Regions from separate parts of the Homo sapiens genome. Here regions 1, 2, 3, 4, 5 and 6 are each linked to region 7. The links are contacts of gene promoters, found by promoter capture Hi-C in blood cells and fetal thymus (Javierre and others, 2016). All regions are on one chromosome and are shown on one strand. Each heading gives the region's core, a stretch centred on a gene start or on the middle of the fragment in contact. The rest is flanking DNA. Distances are from core to core; before and after follow the strand shown. Region 1 has its middle 20 kb from the start of YIPF5. Region 2 overlaps KCTD16 (potassium channel tetramerization domain containing 16). Region 3 overlaps KCTD16 (potassium channel tetramerization domain containing 16). Region 4 overlaps KCTD16 (potassium channel tetramerization domain containing 16). Region 5 overlaps KCTD16 (potassium channel tetramerization domain containing 16). Region 6 overlaps KCTD16 (potassium channel tetramerization domain containing 16). Region 7 holds the start of GRXCR2 (glutaredoxin and cysteine rich domain containing 2).

Region 1 (2,708 bases), core at 71-2,570, 1.7 Mb before region 7:
AGAAAAATACAGACAATTTTTTAAAGAGATAAAGGAGAGAAAAGCTTTCCTTAACGGAGAGAAAAGGTTTCATTTTTTCAGGACTAACCTAGAAAAATGCTTTATGGTTAGCTTAACAGTACCTATCCTGGAGAGACCATAAAATAAATGGTGCTGGAACAATTGGCTATGCATTATGGGGGAAAACACCAGAAATTGATTTCTTCTCCATATAACAAGGGGCTAAAAAGTTTTAAATGTGAAAAGCAAAACTTTAAAATCTTTAGAAGAACTATTGAGACTGCTTTTATGACTATGGGATAAGGCAAAAAGACACAAACCCATACAAATGTAACACTTCAACCCTATGTAGATACCCAAAGAAACCCTTGCACACACGGTAGATACACTGCTTACAGACCATTGTTTGTAAAAGCAAGACTGGAGACAAACATAATGTCTATTAGCAGAAAAATGGATCAATGCGTGATGATATACTCATGGTATAATACAGACCAGTAAACAGAGCGTCACCAAGTACTCACATAACTGAACTGCAGAAACTTAGGAGTAAAAAAAGCAAGTTACAGAAGAAAAGCACAGCATTGTATCATTTATATAAAAGTCAAAAACATGCCAAGTAATACTACAATTTTTAAGAATAGATACATACCTAGTAAAAATATAAAGAAATGCTCAAAATGATAAACTAGTAATCTCTGAGGGGAAGATATGGGATGTAATTAAAGAATATGCAGGGTGTTTTAGATAGATTTAATATTGTTTTCACATTTCACTCTAAATGCAAGGGACATGCTATTATACTTTTTATCTTATTGCATATATTACATCTTATGATAAATATAAAAATCAAATCTATTAATAAACAACATAAAGTCTCCCTCTCCTTTATAAGCATTGCCTTTGGAGAGTCATACTAGTTTTTCCTGGACTTTCCATGTTGCTGAAATGAACACAATTGCTTTCTTCAAGAGTAGTGCAGCTTTCAATTTCTCAAAGATGTATTAGTTATTGAACTAAGGAAATGGTTACTGGACTTTTTGTGAAGAGTCACGTTACACCCCAGGAGGCTAGTGCTAATAGAGATGAACGTCCTTGGTACTTTAGAGTGAATCAGGTACCTACAAGATTGAGAGAGGCACTGATGAACCAAAAAGAAAAAAAATTAATCTAATGGTAGAATATCAAACTCTGAACTATGGGTGATATGCCTGGGTAATAGCTATATTTTTCAATGCAATTAGACTGGAAGGACAACATTTTATTTGTTTATTGATTGAGCCAGGGTCTCCCTCTGTCGCCCAGGCTGGAGTACAGTGTGATTATGGCTCACTGCAGTCTCAACCTCTTATGCTCAAGTGATCCTCCCACCTCAGCTTCCCAAGTAGCTGGGTCTATAGGTGTACACCACCATGCCTGACTAATATTTTTATTTTTGTAGAGACAGGGTCTTACTATATTACAGGCTGGTCTCGAACTCCTGGGCTGAAGCACATGGCCTCTCAAATTGCTGGGATAACAGGTGTGAATCATTACACCCAGCCAAGGACAAAATATTTAAAAGTCAAAATTACATTAAGCGTCATTGTAGCAAAATTACATTTTCTTTCTAAGGTATAGTTAAAACTTCTTCCAATCAAGAAGTTTGAAAACAGCATCTATAAATTCATTAATTCTCTCATTTAGTAAAATATTTGTCCCAGGTGGCAAGTGTGTGTGTACACACATGCACACACACACACAAATATGTAAAGTTCTTTTTGTTTTACAAAGATGGTATACTATATATACTTCCTGATAAAATTAAAATATATTCAGGGAAAACTTTACCATGTCAGTATTTATTCTCTTTTTAATATGGCTAAAATCTTATCACCATCTCAGAAATTGTAGAATTTCAGAATTGAAATGCTTTAAAGAATCTAATACAATTTCTTCATTTTATATAGAGAAAATTAAGGCACAAAAATTACTTATTCAAAATCTTACCAAGTTTTTTACCCATAACAGGGTGAGCACTAAGATATGTATTTACCACTGTCAGTTCAAAAGTATGCAAGAAATGTGTCACTTAGTTACATGAAAAGAAATAGATGGTTGGGCACAGTGGCTCATTCCTGTAATTCCAGCATATTGGGAGGCTAAGGTGGGAGGACTGCTTGAGCCCAGGAGTTCAAGACTAGCCTCAGCAACATAGTGATACTCTGTCTCTACAAAAATATGTAAAAAAAATTCCAAGTGTGGTGGTAGCGTGTGCCTGTGGTCCTAGCTACTCGGCAGGCTGAGGAGGGAGGACTTCAGCCCGAAAGGTCAAGGCTGCAGTAAGCCATGAATGCACCACTGCACTCCAGCCGAGGCAACAGAGCAAGAGCCTGTCAAAAAAAAAAAAAAAAAAAAAGAAAAAGATGTGAGGTCACCTTTACACACTCATGATTAGATACATGAAACATGCATTTTCCTGATCTGGACTATACAATTAAAGAAAGACATGAAGAATTCGGAAGGGATTTAGAGATTAATCCAAAGGCAATTAGAAAAAGAAAATAAGTTATGGGGCGGAAAAAAAACAAAAAACAAAACATCGAAGTAGAGAATATTAAGCTTGCTAAGGAGGAAGCCAAAAGCAGGGCTTTGTTCATGGTGGGCACTTAATGGCTTGGAACTTCATTGGGAAAACTCATAGAACAAGGGTGGAAAACATTTTCCAA
Region 2 (2,848 bases), core at 241-2,740, 1.6 Mb before region 7:
GATTGGGTATATGCATTGGATGAGGGCTTCAGGCTGCCTCTACTCATGGCTGAAGGTAAAGGAGAGCTGATGTGTGTAGAGATTGCATGGTCATAGAGGAAGCAAGGGGAGGAGGAGGCTCCAGGCTCTTTTTACAACTAGGAACAAATAGAACCAGAACTCACTTAAGCCCAAGGAGAGGCATTAATCTATTCATGAGGGATCTAACCCCATGACCTAAGACCTCCCATTGGGCCCATCTCTAATATTGGGGATCAAACGTGAGGTTTGGAAGGGATAAATATCTAAATCATAGCAATTATTATTAACTGAAGTCCATAATGTATTCAGGTTTAGTTTTTACCTACTGACCTTTTCCTGTTTCAAGATTCCATCTGGGATAACATATTACATTTAATATTTTATTTCCTTAGGCTCCTTTGGCTGATGTTTTCTCATAATTAGACTAGGGTTATGGGTATTTGGGAGGAAGACCATAGATGTAAAGTGTCATTTTCATCACATCATATCAAGGGTACACATTATTAATGTGACTTATTACTTTTGATGTGGATCTTGATTATTACTTTTGATGTGGATCTTGATTATTTGATTGAGATAGTGGCTGTCATGTTTCTCCAGTATAAAGTTACTCTTTCTTTCTCTTTTTCATACTGTACTCTTTCAGAAGAAGTCACTATGTGCAGTCCACACCTAAGGAGAGGGAAGTTGTGCTCCTCCTCAAGGGGAGAATATCAGCATAAATTATTTGGAATTCTATTATCTCTTTGTATGTGGTAAAATACTCTATGCCTGATGACCTTATTATTTGGATCCCATGTGTATTTGTTTATGTTGTGTATCTGTTCTATCTTTTTGTTATCCTTTTTTCTTTTCTCTTCTTCTGTGTGGCTTATTTCTACTAAATCCCAGACATTTATTTGAAAAAACTTCAGAGTAAAGTGAAGTCTAAGATGATTTTCCTCCACAGAGGATTTATTTTTACTTAAAGCAGAAGACTACGGTACTAGCTACCCTGGGTTACCTTAACCCAAATTCAAAGGTCCAGATGACTTGAAGAACTTCTGTCCCCATGAATACTCTTTTTTTTGTTTTGTTTTTTTTAGAGAGAGAGAGAGTCTCGTTCTGTCACCAGGATGGAGTGCAGTGGCACGATGTTGGCTCACTGCAACCTCCGCCTCCTGGGTTCAAGTGATTCTCCTGCCTCAGCCTCCTGAGTAGCTGGGACTACAGGTGCACGCCATCACGCCCGGCTAATTTTTTTGTATTTTAGTAGAGACGGGGTTTCACCATGTTGGCCAGGAGGGTCTCGATCTCCTGACTTCATGATCTACCTGCCTCGGCCTCCCAAAGTGCTAGGATTACAGGCATGAGCCACCGCGTCCAGCCCCCCATGAATACTTTTCTATTTATGGCATGTAACTCTTTGGGAGTATTCTAACCAAAGCATGGAGAGTTTCTAAGACTCCCCACTCTTTGGGGGATTCAGGACTGTAATTTATGTCTTTGTGTAGCTCAAGACCCTCAAAATCTCTTCTCAACATCTTGGCAATTTATTTTGGGATTGTCATGCTTCTATAAAAAGAGATGGTTTGGTCAAATGATCTATAAGATGCTTGATTATGACATACTGAGTTATGCTAAGACATGGTTCCTGCCTACTTCTATTTTAGTTGTGATTCTAAAGGTATACATAGGAAGCATTAAGAGCAAATTTGATAACAAAGTGCTAAATTGCATTGTATAGATAAATAGAGATAGGAAAGTCTATTTGCAGTTGGCTGTCATGCAGTAGAAAGAATAATCACAAAACAGATATATATAAAGGACAAATTGGTGAGGGTTGCTAAGTCAATTCCACAGAATTGGACTAACTGTTTTTCTTTTCATTTTTGCACTTCCATATCAGATATACTTTATGGTCAGGTCAATGTGTGATCCATTATATCTCCATATTAACAAAATAACCTCTTTAACACATTAAACCTGTGTTTTTGCTTGGGATTGGAGAGATCTCTATTTTTAGATATCTTTCCCAATGTACCTTCAAAGTAGACCCAATTCCTAGTTTCTCACTTTCCCTAGACTGATCTGCCAGGAGCCTTTTGTGGTCAGAATTCTAACCTTAACTTTGTATCATTTTGAGCTTCAGATTCTTAATTGGTAAAAATGAAGCCAGTAACAAATCCCCTCCTAGGATGGTTTTGAGAATCAAATGAAATGTAGTAGTGACTATGAAAGCTCCTTGAAAGCTGAAAATCATGGGTGAACTGTAACATCATTAGGCATTATTTTGGCTTGTCATCAGATGTGAACCTTGGAGATTATTATAAGATTAGAAAGCTCCAGATATGAGAAGACAATGATCAATATTCTATTACAAGCTGATCATGACCCTCAGAAATTTAAACTGTATGTTTTGTTTATTCCATTGTACATTTATTTATTTATTTGACAAATAATTACTAAATATCTTCAATGGACCTGCTATTGTGCTGGGTGATGAGGATTAGGGAGAAAATACACACACAATCTTTGTCTTAAAGAAGCATACAGTCTAGAAGGGAGATAAAAATTAATCAAAGAATCAAACTAATAAATGGAAAGATACAACTGTGGTAGATACTTTGAAAGAGAAGACTATTTTAATATAAGAGTGTATAATGAGGGAATAGAGGGTTTAACCTCATCAGAGAAGTCAAGGAAAACATCCGCAAGGAAGTTATGGTTGCGGTGCGACTTTAAGTATAGGAGTTAACAAGACACATGGAGGAAATAAGAGTATTCCAGGCAAAAGGACTAAAATCTGCAAAAGTCTTGAGGGAGGAAGAAGAATGACATGTCTGAA
Region 3 (3,013 bases), core at 268-2,767, 1.6 Mb before region 7:
TAAGACCAGAGGTAAGAAGAAAAACTGTAGGCTATATAAGTAGGTAAGAAGAGAGATGGTGAATTCTTAAATAAGACAAGTGTGTATGCCCTGACTCCTCAGCAAAACTCTAAGCTCCTTGTGTTAAACATAATTTTTGTTGTGCTTATATCTTTCTTTGTTTCTAGCGAAATTCTATGTATATAGTAGGTGCTTGGAAAATTCTTGCCTTAAGAATGGATTAAGAATCCATCTCTACTTTAAAAATTCACTTGCACAATGCCGTCTCGACATAGTGAACAGGATATCTTTGGTAACGCTCTGTCATTTTTAACAACATGGAAATTACCACTTTGCTAATCAACCCATGAACAAAAAAGTGTCTTGATGCTTCCCTTAGCAACCAAGTGCTCAGCAGTTTGCCCATCCAAAATCTTGTATTTTTGGTTCTTCAACATAGTAGCTTTTGATGTTTTAGATACTTTTAGGATTCATGAAAGTGGAAACAAGAAAATTCAGAAGAAGAATTTTATTTCATGTTTATTTTATTTTATTGTTTCTAATGATAATGACAGATTTCAGTTATTGAATACTTATTCTGTGGCAGTCACTCTTCTAAATAGTTTTGGGATATTTTCTTTTTTAAATTTTACGCAAAATTAAGTAAGTTTTATGTAAAAATTAGGTTTTATTACTATCCCCTTTTAAAAATGAGAAGATTGTGGTGAAGATAGTTTAAGTGACTTGCCCAAGAGCAAATAGCTAGAGGCAGTAGAGCTTCAAACCCAGCTTTTCTGACCCCAGAGCACATTCATAGGTGATCATTATAAAAAGTGAAGAGACAGGCAGGTTTAGCACTGCACAGTGGTCAAGTGTCTTCAAGCTTAATAGTATCACTTTATGAATTTCAAAGTACTCTGGGCAGGTGTCAGGGAGAAGAAAAAAATGAAAAGAAACAAAAGGAGAAAGAGAAATAAGTTTAAAACAAGAATATATGTTGTCACAGTAAGTGTGTAATAAATATTTTTGAATGAAGTGAAATATGAAAGACAAAAACAAAGGAGGATTTTATGGCAGGTGGTAGAAGATGGTGTTCAACCATGACTTTGGGTTCTATCTTTGGTACAGAAGAACTACAGACTTCAAGTATGATTGCTTTTCTAGGTTGCAGCTTCACTCATCCCTGGCTATATCTAGACTTGTTAACAAATTTATAAATCTTCACCCACTGATTTTTCTTTCTGGTTAGAATCAGCCCAAATGACTTTTAGCTTCCTGAATACTTATTATCGTACGTCAAATACAGTATCAAAGAAAGAATAACTTAACTGTAAAACACCCTGTTTTTCTGATTCTAGCTCTGACATTCAACATCCTTGGAAAAATCAGTTGCTCTAGTGTATAGAATGTTTTCAAATTGCATGAGAGATTATGCCACAGTTGTATGTGATGAAAACAGTTTTTAATAATTTGATATGGACAGAATGATTAAAAAGCCCACTTGGCCTCTTCTTTCCTCATTGTTCTGTCTCTTTAAACTTGGATCCCTTTGGGTTGGCTGTAAGCAGTGGAAAAGAAATGCAGCCTATAGAATGAGCAGCAGGATATTGTGGAATATGGAAATCATTTCTATATTGTACAGGGAAATCTAATTACCTCTATCGATCATTCATCCAGTCTTTCCTCTCTTCTGTTTTGTTGAGTGTTTGGTTGTATAATTGACATTATTAGAGCGTTAGTGCCTCCTTTCAAAAGGCCTGTGGTTTGCTGGCCATTAGCAATCTTGATAGACGTGTCAAGGACAGAAGACCTCCAAATGCAGTCAAATTTTCTTTACACAGTAGGGTGGCTGGCTGTCTCTAGTTAACTCATGTTTTCTGCAAGTGTTATTAGAATTATATCACTTCATATGCAAGCCCTCTATGTTTCAGCTGACTCTTAATTACCTAAGCTGGGGAAGTGATTCTTTTTCTAGACTTAGGAACAAAGATGAATAGCTTTATAGGCTTGTGAGATCTCTGTAAAATCTTTTATGATTTGTTAAAGATCAAGTACAGCACTTTTAAGATTCTTTAGGACCTTGAGGTTGGGCTGGGTTGTTCAGAGATGGAAATAGAACCCTTGGCTTTTGTGTGGCAAGAGCAATGGAAATGACCAAAGGTTCAGTCTCTTGTCAAAAGTTTCAAACATGATTAAGCTTTTTGTGCTCATTATCTCAGAGTGACCTGCACCTGTTTAGTTGTTATCAGAAATATCATTTAAAACATCTAAAACTCTTCATTATCAACTCTTTATTTTTCAGGCCACTATAAGGAAACAACAAATATGATAATGCAAGGACTAGGTGGGGGTGGGAAATGAGGAGATCCAGGTTGGGGCTCAGGCTCTCCAGTAAGTGGCTCTGTGAGGCTGGGGAGGTCATTTCTCCTCTCCTGCCTTCACCTTCTGTTTCATAAGTTGGTTGGATTTGGGAGTTCAAACTTAAATGCCATTAGAGGCCTGGAAAAGAGTTTAAGACAAAAGACAGGAATTAGTTCTGTGGTCATTGGAGAGTGCATATCAACCTGGCCTATAGATGTCACAGCCTTAAACACACTTAAAGATATCCTGGCACAGAATATACATCTATGACACTTTTTGGCCCATAATTGCCATTTTACCACTCCCGTTTATATAATCTAAACTCCTCCCCTTCTTTAGGTATACATTTTCTGGCTCTACAAAAATATTCAAATAAAAAGAGGAAATGAAAGACCTAAAAGAAATGTCTTATAGTAAAGAAAAAAGAAACAAGTAAATCATGTGAGGATAAAAATTCACTTATTTTAGATAGAATAAAAAAAGACCAGGGTGTCATAGTTAAATCCAAGTTGACTGCGATGAGCCAGTGTGGGTAATAGTGCTGTGGGGAAAGGAAAGGACAGTGTGATCCTGAAGTGCAGCATGAAGCACATGTGACATAGCAGCAATAAGTCATCTTTCTGCTGCACTTAGCTTTAGTCTGACTCTCATTCCAGGGGAGTCCAGATGTGGT
Region 4 (2,961 bases), core at 294-2,793, 1.6 Mb before region 7:
GCTCTTTCTTTGACAAACAGATGCAAGTAGGTGACCTGTCAAAAGCTAGCAAAAACCCTGTGGCCATCAAGAAGCCACTTATTTTAAAATAGTAAACATTTTCTTTATAGTACCTTAGTCTCTGTTTAGGATGCCTTGCCCACAGGAATTTAATGGTTCAACCCCGTTCTGTCATGTCATAATGTTCAATACTCTATTGTCAAGGTGATGAATCAAAGAATGGGACAAGAGTTTGCAAATCAGCCCCTAAGCAGGTTGCATTTCATCTTTCCAGTCTGCATGAAATGAAAGGCATCTCTTAGGATAGTTAGCTCAAAAGCTAAGCAAACTTTGGCATAAAAAAGGGAAATAAGAGATAGAGCAATTGTTCTCACTCCATTCATGCAGTTCGTGTATGAGCAGACAAGAAAAAGTCCTGAGAAGTAAGACTGTTTGTGGAAAACCTCTCCTGTGGCTCCATATGCAGTATTCATGTAACTGGGATTGTGGATATGGTCTAGGATGCACTCAAGAATGAGCTGTCGTGTGCTCATTGACAGCATGCAGGACTTGACCTGGAAATAATTAAACTCTGCATGGCCTCTGAGCAGCTAGAAGGGGCCCAGCTGTCTGCTGAGGAAGAAGAGATTTCAAGGGTAAAGTAGTTAAAGAAAATTCTGAAAGATATGATGGAGAAAGAACACCAAGCTCTGCAGCCTTCTGAAGAAGCAGTTTCCTAGGACAAGTGTCTTGTCTAGATCCATTGAAAGGGACAAGGAGCTTCAGTCCTCTTCAAGGAAGAGCAAGGCACAGTAAGGCAAATAAATCCTTCCTATTATTTCTGAGAGCAAGTAATAAAGTTGTTTATTGCTTCCTCCCAAAGAAATAAGAATTATAAGGTCCAAAAAGACATAAATGAAACTATAATGTGAGATTTATGGTCATTTGGGCAGAATCGCAAGTGTATAATTGGTGTAGCATGTCGAAAAAGATGGTTGCCTGTTTTTTTTGTTGTTGTTGTTGTTTGTTTTTTTAAAGCTTGGCTTTTGCCTTGACAGTTTTAGCAATTAATGTCTTATATTTGAGTCTCTATTTATCTTGCCGAAAGAGACTATTATTCTAATTTTTTTCTGTTATATTGGTATTATTTCTTAAGTAGCTATTAATATCATTTTTTATGTAAATGGATATAATTAACTCTATAGGCTGGCAGCTTTCTTTGAAATTTTCTCACTTTTCTCCTTCCTGAGCTTACTTTAATATCTGACTGTAACTTGTAAATATCTGTCTAGAATTGATGAAACGACCCCAATTGGGTCCCAATTAGCTTAGCAACAGAGGCTGTCATGCTTAAGATTTGAGTATCACTGATACAGGCTAAAAATGAACAAATGAAAGAAGGAGCTGTATTTCAGCTCTTTGGGAACAACAACAAAAAAAAAAAAAAAAAGAAAAAAAAAAAAGGAACAGTTGTAGAGGGAACACCTCCCAGGAAAATACCCTAAAGATTTCCTTTACACAAAGCTGGAACTTTAGGAGAAAAATGTTAAAGGAAAATAATTACCAGATTAGTATCTTATAAATTTATTTAAAACACTAGATTTACTGAAAGTAGGGGGTTTTCTTAGAAGATTAATTTGAAAAATAATGTGGCAAAGGCACCCCTTAAGTCACCTCAAATGTGCCTGCACCCTCTCTGCTTCTATAAAAGGGGAGAATTTGACCGAGCATATTACCTCACCCTTTGTTCCTCTCTGCAGCAATTCTTTCATCCAGATATTTCAAAGTGTTTTTACAAATGTAAATTAACAAGCCTCATCACCTCTCTCCATAGAGATGGTTCAATTAAGTAACTCAGAAACGTACCTAAATGGCTTATTCAAGGTCACCTGAGAAGTCCTCTGTGAAATCTGGAAATGGATATTCAAAGTGTAAAAATTCCTTGCAGTTTCACTGCACATCCGGGCTTATTGCAACCCTTGGCAAGTGCCACTGGAGGGACAATTATTTTTCTTCTTTAATCTTTACAGTGAGTCTTTCACCAGTTGGCCTTCTCCCAACCTCATCAAGTACCCACAACCCATGTACCTGAAGCTTCAGTCCTTTCCTCTTCTCACTTATCTGTCCCAAAAGCTGAATGAGGACAATGACTTTTTTTTTAAAGAATCATTTTGATTAAATAAGTACTTCACATACTTATTTTCTCTCAAACTCTTCTATTTATCCATTTCATAAATATTTACTGAATACTTCATTTGTTGCCACTCACTGTGCTAGACACAGGGAGTGCTACAATCATGTTCCTCCCTTTCTGAGAAAGAAAGACAATAAAAAGAAATAGATACCTAGTGGTCAATGCTATGAAGATGGCAAATGTGGCAGGCTGGATGAGATGGGTAAGAATTAATGGATCGGGGAAGGCCTCTCTAAGCAGGGAACATATGAACCAAGACCTGTAACCTGAAAATACATCAGACTTTTAAAGTACTGAAAGAAGAATGCTCCAGGCAGAGGGAACAGCAAAAGTAAAGACAAGAGCTCGGCTGGGAAAGAACTTGGCCAAAGCCTCATGCACCAGGGCAAGGATAGCAGGAGATGAGGCTGCAGAGGAAGGACAAAACTTGTGGGCTATGGGACAAGGTATATAATTCATTGATAAAACAATAATCAACCTGTGAAGGGTTTCAAGCAAGGAAATAACATGACTGACCTGATTTATGTTTTAAAACTAGCAAATGGTGAAGAATATTCTTGCTCTGCAAACATTTTTTATCTTTATCTAATATCAGATGATTTATCAGGTTGAACAGGTTTTCCTATACCTTATAACCACTTGAAGAAACATAAGTAGGAAAACTATGTGCTCTTCTCATTTTAATCCTTTCCACACCAGTTCTTTGAACTCATGAACACAAAACATTGTCTTAAAAGAGAAAGACCTTCCTACTTCTTTGGAGCTGATTTGTTAGTTTTTATATTACT
Region 5 (3,045 bases), core at 397-2,896, 1.5 Mb before region 7:
GATTAATAATTAATGATAATAATAGTGGACTCAGTAAAAGGTATTTTTAATGTGATTATTTTAATTATGTAAAATGTAAAATGTCTTGTTTTCTCAGAGAACTCAACTCAGGTCATCCATGAAAACAAGTATATTTTATAAAATATTTGGCAGTTATTAAAGGGAAGACATCAAAATGAAACAAATCTGTGACTATTTTTCCTCATCAGTTACCATGGGAGGCATCCCTTCAAGAACACCATCTCTAACATGGATGCCTAAGTCTGTGACAATAAAGTCTGTGAAGTAAATTGACTGAGAGGGTAATAGTAAATACAGAATATCAGTGGATGCCTGAAACTAGCAGGAGAAAAATAGAAAATAATTATCTCATCGAGGAACAAATAGATCTATTGATAGTATAAATTTTTAAAAAATGTTTGTAACCTTTTCCATTAAGTATACTAGTTTATGATAAGTTGAAATATTTTGCCATCTGCCTTATGAAACTCCACTCAATCTGTGCAATTCAAAGTATTAAAATGGAAATAAAATAAATACTGTTTCACATATAAAACAAATTGGACCTTATAACTAATCATTTCTTCTCATTTCAATACCTCCCACTATTCTCTTCTTAACTGAAAATGACTGCAAGGAGGCTTTTATGGGGAGTTGGATTTTCACCTAGTTGAAAGATCAGTTTGTAATTCACAAAAAAAAAAGAAAGAAAAGAGAAGAAAAAAAGAAAGAAAGAAAAATCCAGTTCCTTTTATTTGCCTCTAGGACCTAATTCTTTGTCTTTTGGGAAATAAATTATCCTTAACAAAGTGCTTCTTAAAATTCTTATCCTCAGTAATGAAAGACTCTTCCAAGCAGATATGTTGTATTTGTAATTAAAAGGTTTCCTGTCCCTATATTATAACATTATGGCCAGCCTTCAACATATTTGAAGTAATTAGAGTATAAATTCAGTAACTGAGCGTTCTGAGAAAATTCTGAGGAAATTGCAGAGTTTTGAGGAAAATTTAGCATTTGATAGAGTGCGGGAACTAAACGATCCATTTGGAACTTATTGGTGTGGAAGCAAAACTATTTACCGCTGGAAGCTATGGTGGCAATGTTGGCAACGGTGAAGATTTTGCCTCTAGGTGCAGGTATGACAGTATTTCCTCAGACAGAAGTACATATAGTATTTTTTAAGGCTACATAATATTGGTGGCCTGCAGCTAAGAACCTATGTTCTAGTGATCTATGGAATTTGGATATTATTTCTAAGTAAGCCCTTCTCCTTGCTATGAGTGACATATACCTACTAGATTTGAAGATTCAGTCAATTTCCAAAAATGCATCTTCTAGAATAGCTTTGTGCCTTCCTGATTGCTCCTCCAAGTCTAATGCTGGCTCTGTCTTCAACTATTACCTTTTTTGGATGGTTTTCCTGATCTTGCCTATCTCTTCCCATTAGAATTCATGAACCCTTCTTCCTGTTTCCATGGTATCCAATATAGAGCTGTGTATGCTTGCCACACAGTATTTTGAAATAATTAATTTTATTTGATGTTTTTATATGTGTACCTCAGTCTCCCTTTCTACAGATAATCACTGTTAACAGTTTCTTGTGTTTCTTTCCATAAAACAGAAATTTTGCATTTTCCGATGCACATGTGACTAAATATACACATGAATTAAAAAAATGACCCACAAAAAATCATATTTTTGGAAATATTTTTCATCCTGCTTTTTATTTAATATATGTAGGATGTAATTCTATGAACACATGCAGGCTTGCGTCATTTTTTAAAACAGCTATCTAATAATTCCATTTTATGGATGTTTTATAATTTATAATTATTTGGGTTCCTAATTACAAACACTTTGCTGGTTTGCAGCTTTCCGATGTTATAAACACTGCAGTGAAGAATCCCTGGTGAACATCTGCAAGTATGTCTTCAGGATACATCCAAAACAGTGGGATTTCAGGGTCTGAGGGCGTGTGTTTATTTAATATTGGTAGATTAACTCTACAAAATGTTTCATCAATTAGCCTCCCACCAACAACATCACACTATGTATAAAAATTGGTTTACTTTCTCTCCTCACTTAGAAAGTGAGAAAAGTGAGTGTAGAGCAGTGCTTTTTATCTCAGGATCCCCACTGCACCTAACACAGTACTCAATAAATATTTTTAGAAAGGAGAAATAAAGAATGAAAAGTTCTGCTCATATTTTAGCCTGTTTTAACACCATCAGAGTTATGTTGGAGACAATATTAAAGTCACACATTAATATGATACTCAGACAAGTTTGACAATTCATGGAAAGGTGCATATGTGGTTGTGAATTCACTAGGCAATTACATAAATCTCCTCATTAATCTTATTTAGAGGCCGAGGAAGAGGAAGAAGAGATCTTACCAGAATCAATCTGTATCTCCTCTCTTTCGGAGTAGGCCTTCCCCTGAGACTAGCAATTGTTCTGCCTGTTGATTTGAGTGTGTGGGATAGGACCAGGAAGCGAATATCCTCTTTTTTTTTTATTTTTTTTATTTTTTTTTATTTTGCAAGCAGTGAGTGTGTATTCCTGCGAAATTAAGTGCTGAAACAATTTTATCCTGTTGTTTTTCATGTGCATTACATCATCTATGTGTAAACTAACTGTGGCTCCTAAGGACCTCTAGACTCTCTAGCCTGAACATCAAGGCCCTCTATCACAGGCCTCCAGTGTGTGTCCAGCTGCTGTCAGCTACACCCTGCTACTCATAGCTGGAGATCTACTGTGGGTTTTGCCCGCCTGCTTTATGGAATCATTCTGTCCTTCTCCACTGTGAAAAGCACTCTCATTTTCCTGCATCTTATGGCTGGGAAAGACTTTGCTGTAGCTTTTTTCTTTTTTTTTTTTTATCAGCATCTGATTTCTTATTGCCTGATTCATTGATGCCAATCGTTCTTGGTTCAGATTGGCTGCTATAGTGATTTTAAATCTGTATTTAATTTTTTATTGAATGAACTATAAATATGATCACCCATCTATATCCCAGGCTTGAGACTCAGAGCAGTTTTTTAAA
Region 6 (2,700 bases), core at 22-2,521, 1.7 Mb before region 7:
GCTACCTGGGAGGCTGAGGCAGGAGAATGGCATGAACGCAGGAGACGGAGGTTGCAGTGAGCCGAGATCACGCCACTGCACTCCAGCCTGGGCGACAGAGCGAGACTACGTCTCAAAAAAAAAAAAGAAGAAGAAATGAGTGAAAGATAAAAAAGAAAAGGGCAACTTGAACCTTGAGAAAGAGGTTAAGAGATGTGGACAGGAGTGGGCAAAGTCACTTTGCTAAGTCAGATTCCTTAGGTACCTCCGTTGTATGACAGGAATGGTAGATCTATGTAACTGCATTGTAAGACACTGAGTAGCAAATAATACCACATATGTAAAGTGGCCATGTTGCTTATTAGATGTCTGCTATTAAGGCAGATTTTATATTAGCTTGAGTGAACATCTAGAGAATGTCTTAAGGATGCGTAATGAAGAAGAGAGACATTAAATCTGCTTTAGTATTATTATTATTATACTTTAAGTTCTGGGATACATGTGCAGAACGTGCAGGTTTGTTACATAGGTATACACATGCCATGGTGGTTTGCTGCACCCATCATCCCATCACCTACATTAGGTATTTCTCCTAATGTTATGACTCCCCTTGCCCCCCACCCCCTGACAGGCCCCAGTGTGTGATGATCCTTTCTCTGTGTCCATGTGTTCTCATTGTTCAACTCTCACTTATGAGTGAGAACATGCAGTGTTTGGTTTTCTGTTCTTGTGTTAGTTTGCTGAGAATGATGGTTTCCAGCTTCATCCGTGTCCCTGCAAAGGACATGAATTCATCCCTTTTTATGGCTGCATAGTATTCCATGGTGTATATGTGCCACATTTCTTTATCCAGTCTATTATTGATGGGCATTTGGGTTGGTTTGAAGTCTTTGCTATTGTGAACGGTACTGTAATAAACATACGTGTGCATGTGTCTTTAGAGTAGGATGATTTATAATCCTTTGGGTATATACCCAGTAATGGGATTGCTGCGTCAAATGGTATTTCTGGTTCTTGATCCTTGAGGAATCCCCACACTGTCTTCCACAATGGTTGAACTAATTTACACTCCCATCAACAGTGTAAAAGTGTTCCTATTTCTCCACATCCTCCCCAGCACCTGTTGTTTCCTGACTTTTTAATGATTGCCATTCTAACTGGCGTGAGATGGTATCTCATTGTGGTTTTGATTTGCATTTCTCTAATGACCAGTGATGATGAGCTTTTTTTCATATGTTTGTTGACCGCATAAATATCTTCTTTTGAGAAGTGTCTGTTCACCTTTGCCCATTTTTTGATGGGGTTGTTTGTTTTTTTCTTGTGAATTTTTTAAAGTTCTTTGTACATTCTGGGTATTAGCCTTTTGTCAATGGATAGATTGCAAAAATGTTCTCCCATTCTGTAGGTTGCCAGTTCTAACTGCTTTTTTTAGAGAGTTGCAAAAGCATTTATATATCAATGGTCAAAATAAAAAATAAGTATTTTAATGGGCAAATACATTTCTATTATTTAAATTATTATAAGACTAGCGATTAAAGAAAAAGTAATAATGTGGTGTGGGGTATTCAACATTAAAGTAAGATGCATAACAACTATAATCCAAGGGCCTGGAGCAGATAAATGAGGATATGCCATTGTAAGATTCCTATGTGCACAAAGCGGCATAATATCACTTAGAAGTAGACATACACTTCTCAAAAGAAGACATTTATGCCGCCAACAGACACATGAAAAAATGCTCATCATTGCTGGCCATCAGAGAAATGCAAATCAAAACCACAATGAGATACCATCTCACACCAGTTAGAATGGCGATCATTAAAAAGTCAGGAAACGACAGGTGCTGGAGAGGATGTGGAGAAATAGGAACACTTTTACACTGTTGGTGGGACTGTAAACTAGTTCAACCATTGTGGAAGACAGCGTAGCGATTCCTCAAATATCCAGAACTAGAAATACCATTTGACCCAGCCATCCCATTACTGGGTATATACCCAAAGGATTATAAATCATGCTGCTATAAAGACACATGCACACGTATGTTTACTGCGGCGCTGTTCACAATAGCAAAGACTTGGAACCAACCCAAATGTCCAACAATGATAGACTGGATTAAGAAAATGGGGCACATATACAGCATGGAACACTATGCAGCTGTAAAAAAGGATGAGTTCATGTCTTTTGTAGGGACATGGATGAAGCTGGAAACCATCATGCTCAGCAAACTATCGCAAGGACAAAAAAACCAAACACCGCATGTTCTCACTCATAGGTGGGAATTGAACAATGAGAACACTTGGACACAGGAAGGGGAACATCACACACCAGGGTCTGTTGTGGGGTCGGGGGAGCGGGGAGGGATAGCATTAGGAGATATACCTAATGTAAATGACGAGTTAATGGGTGCAGCACACCAACATGGCACATGTATACATATGTAACAAACCTGCACATTGTGCACACGTACCCTAGAACTTAAAGTATAATAAAAATAATATATGTATAAAAAAGTAGATAGTAGAAAGTTAAAAATATGTACTATAAATTCTAAAGACATCATTAAAGTAACAAAACACAGATATGTAGCTAATAAGCTAGTAAAGAAATAAAGAAGATAAAATGAAAAATAGGTTTTAATAGAATGGTAGCATCAGCCCTATATTTTTATACAGTTCAGTATCATACATCCAAGATATGGGTACATTTGGATCTTCCTGACTT
Region 7 (2,986 bases), core at 466-2,965:
TTATTATTATGTAATAATATGGTTCTCTAAAAAAAGGAACATGCCCTAAAGCAAAACATTTGTAGCATCAGAAGATCTGGATTCTTATTCTGACTCTGTACCCAATGACCCTGTAGTATCAGATGGATCCCTTAACAACTTGGCACTCAATTTTTCTCTTCTGCAAAATGGGAATGACCATACTTTGGCCTTTCTCCCCAAGGTTATAGTAAAGACCCAATGCCATAGATATAGACAGAGATAGTACATGATGACACTTTGTACTGCATACGTCACCCCATTAAGATAAGAGGTCATTCATTTCAGCCCCTTTTAATATCAAAAACAAGCCTAGTGTTATCTTCGGTAATTGTGAACATGCCCATAATTATACTTTTACCAATGCCAGTAAAGCCAGTAATACATTTGTCTGCAATAGATGTGTTATCTATTCCCTTAGGAAACTAACAATAAAAATAATTCAAGAGTAATTATCTGGCTTTCACACTTTAAAGATGAGAACACATCCTGGTGTGCTATTCATTAATAACGTGGATACATTATATAATTGTATTTTATCTTTTTTAAGAAGTCATTCATGGTCCCACTGACAGCATATATACATCTCCTATGAATTTTTGGATACCAGTGTATGTTTTCCAGGTTCTACCTTAAAAGAAAATCATGTATGGACTTTTGATTATCCATGGTACTGGGAAGTAATTGAAATTCATAGATTAAACACATTCTTCAATCGAACCATTAGCTCAAACTTCTTCCTCACATAACATATCCTCTGGCTGATTTGCGTTTCACCATCCCTTCCCAGGACTCCAACTACCCAGAGCTTATGCTAAGGAGCAATGGAAAGGAAAAATAAATAGACAAAGCAGGCAGTATGAGGAAGGCAATAGGGGTAAAAAACAAGACATGGATAAACTGCAAGCTGAGTAATTGGCTGGAGTAAAATGAGCACTTTCAAATACTCAGCTCTTTCAGGAAACAAAATGACTGCATAATTGTCTAAAACCGCAGTCTGACAACCTGAAAACCACTGCACCTCTATTTAATTTACATTCCAGGAAAACTCAGTCAAAGATCCAATTACAATGTATTACCTTGGATGGAATTTGAATACTATATATGCTCATTGCACTTTCCAATTAGTAGTCAACAAGCATGTTATTTTTACCCCAGAAATATTCGTCTAATAACAACTTCCCATTTGGTGCACCAACAGTTCTGGTTGGTACCGGAGGGGGAGCAAGACACAAATCTGAACCATTTAGGAGTTTCTCTAAACACGTTTTAGGAAGCCCTACCCTTAAAGCCTATATGCCATGCACAATACCAACCTTATGGTCATTCGCCTTGTAATCGTTGAACCGAGGCTGGCCGCCTGCCAAGGTGTAGGCATTACCCTCTCTAAACACACTGATCCTCTGAGCAGTCAGCTTAGGGGAGCACATCTGGGGCCTGGGGACTTCCCCAGACCCATAAACACCATCCATTGTTTCAAGAGACTCTTGCAGAAAACTGTGAGGGTATTCCTCCTTTGGTGACTCTAATTCCTGCCCATCCTCAAAGACCTGCTTCAATACTCGACCGCTGTAGGAGGAGGAGATTTTAAATCGTACTTTCCGGGGTTTGCCATCACTCTTCTGATTCAGCTTTTTCTCAGGGTCCTCCATCAGCAGAAAGTTGACCCTGTGGTCTCCAGCCTTCCGTGCAGCCGGTGAAACTTGGGCCTCTGAGAAAAAGGCATTTTATTTTCTCTCCTCCTGCATATAATTAATTCAAGTTGTTGCTGGGGTATGGTCAGTTTACAGCAACTGACACCCATACATTAAATATTGATAGACCCTCATGAAAAGGCAGGTGATTCTGGTTTGATGGAGTGGATGGAATATAAGACAAGATTGATTCTTCTCATAATCCCAAGCTCACCATGACTTCACCCCAACCCTAACCTTTCTTAACCTGAGGATGAAGAAGTTTATTTAGACTGAACATGTGCCAATTCAATAAGGATCAGACACTCAATTAGTTAACAAGTGTCTTCTTATTGTTAGCAATGACAATTAAAATCTAGTGAGCATTTCATAAGTACCAGAGATTGTTACATGCATTATTTTATTTCATCCTCACGATAACCCTACAAAGAAAATCTTACCTTTGTTTTACACAGGGGAAAGTGAGGCTTAGAGCCACTTGTCATTTATCTTCATCATTTGTCTGCTCTATTACACCTAAGTAAGTGACAGAGCAGGGATTTGAACCCAGATCTATCTGACTCCAAAACCCAAGATCAGCCCACACAACCAGAAGTTTTCCAGTTCTGGTTCTAGAAGAGGGAATGACGTCCTAGATACAGTGGAGGTTCTTGGAGGCTGCTGCTAAGAACAGGAGAAGGCCGAGGGTCCTGGATTCTGGGCCTTCTCCCCCTACGCTAACCAGAGCACCTCCACTTGGTATGTATTTTACATTTAAGATTTCATTTGCAATCACAGCACAAGTCCCCATTGCCTGTTGGACTTCGTAAATGCCTGACACTGAACTAGTGGCTGGAGTGAATAGCACAGAAGCATGTGACCTGGGCCTGAGAACAGTCCTACAATCCCATACAGACCTCACACAGGTGAAATAATAACCTCATGCTTAGAGAGCAAACTGCCCACAGCTGAATCCCAGAATAGCCACTCTGGGAAGGAAGTGGTCTCTAAGGAGACAAGGATGGAAGAAGGTTTGTAAAGAAAAGGGCCCTTGGGCTGGGTAGAAAATGGTAGGTTGGATGTGAGGAGCTGAAAGTGGAGTAAAGCCTTTCTCCCTGTCTTTGCTACCAGCATCACCATTTACTGAGTTACCCAAATTGACCCCTCCTATTCCCCTACAGCCATTCGCTTGGATTCTTTTTTTTTATTATTTTATTTTATTTTTTTTTTTTTGAGACGGAGTCTCACTCTGTTGCCAGGCTGGAGTGCAGTGGTACGATCTCGGCTCACTGCAA

Evidence for each region. Contacts are between HindIII fragments. The CHiCAGO score rates a contact against its expected background, and 5 or more counts as called.
Region 1: a contact is called between a fragment that was not itself captured here and the fragment with the promoter of GRXCR2 in region 7, in 1 of 17 cell types (M2 macrophages). The highest score is 5.7, in M2 macrophages.
Region 2: a fragment that was not itself captured here is called in contact with the fragment with the promoter of GRXCR2 in region 7 in 2 of 17 cell types (naive B cells and total B cells); the score reaches 7.7 in naive B cells.
Region 3: a contact is called between a fragment that was not itself captured here and the fragment with the promoter of GRXCR2 in region 7, in 2 of 17 cell types (total B cells and naive B cells). The highest score is 5.6, in total B cells.
Region 4: a fragment that was not itself captured here is called in contact with the fragment with the promoter of GRXCR2 in region 7 in 2 of 17 cell types (naive B cells and total B cells); the score reaches 6.4 in naive B cells.
Region 5: a fragment that was not itself captured here is called in contact with the fragment with the promoter of GRXCR2 in region 7 in 1 of 17 cell types (total B cells); the score reaches 6.1 in total B cells.
Region 6: a fragment that was not itself captured here is called in contact with the fragment with the promoter of GRXCR2 in region 7 in 6 of 17 cell types (total B cells, naive B cells, M2 macrophages and 3 more); the score reaches 11.9 in total B cells.

The regions. Positions count from the first base shown.
Region 1 is chr5:144,149,106-144,151,813 of GRCh38, forward strand. No RefSeq gene overlaps it. Among named protein-coding and RNA genes, the nearest start is that of YIPF5, 20 kb to the right of the region's middle. The HindIII fragment of the contact is 2,557 bases long and covers 43-2,599 here.
Region 2 is chr5:144,242,654-144,245,501 of GRCh38, forward strand. All of the region lies in intron 3 of KCTD16 (potassium channel tetramerization domain containing 16), which reads left to right. Among named protein-coding and RNA genes, the nearest start is that of KCTD16, 73 kb to the left of the region's middle. The HindIII fragment of the contact is 4,013 bases long and covers 1-2,848 here.
Region 3 is chr5:144,301,374-144,304,386 of GRCh38, forward strand. The region is part of intron 3 of KCTD16 (potassium channel tetramerization domain containing 16); the gene reads left to right. Among named protein-coding and RNA genes, the nearest start is that of KCTD16, 130 kb to the left of the region's middle. The HindIII fragment of the contact is 1,314 bases long and covers 861-2,174 here.
Region 4 is chr5:144,259,756-144,262,716 of GRCh38, forward strand. The region is part of intron 3 of KCTD16 (potassium channel tetramerization domain containing 16); the gene reads left to right. Among named protein-coding and RNA genes, the nearest start is that of KCTD16, 90 kb to the left of the region's middle. The HindIII fragment of the contact is 1,056 bases long and covers 1,016-2,071 here.
Region 5 is chr5:144,325,997-144,329,041 of GRCh38, forward strand. All of the region lies in intron 3 of KCTD16 (potassium channel tetramerization domain containing 16), which reads left to right. Among named protein-coding and RNA genes, the nearest start is that of KCTD16, 160 kb to the left of the region's middle. The HindIII fragment of the contact is 4,124 bases long and covers 1-3,045 here.
Region 6 is chr5:144,220,827-144,223,526 of GRCh38, forward strand. The region is part of intron 3 of KCTD16 (potassium channel tetramerization domain containing 16); the gene reads left to right. Among named protein-coding and RNA genes, the nearest start is that of KCTD16, 51 kb to the left of the region's middle. The HindIII fragment of the contact is 3,435 bases long and covers 1-2,700 here.
Region 7 is chr5:145,871,299-145,874,284 of GRCh38, forward strand. It overlaps GRXCR2 (glutaredoxin and cysteine rich domain containing 2), which reads right to left and starts at 1,716. Exons shown (of 3, transcript NM_001080516.2): 1 at 1,335-1,716. The coding sequence starts at 1,670. The HindIII fragment of the contact is 6,212 bases long and covers 1-2,986 here.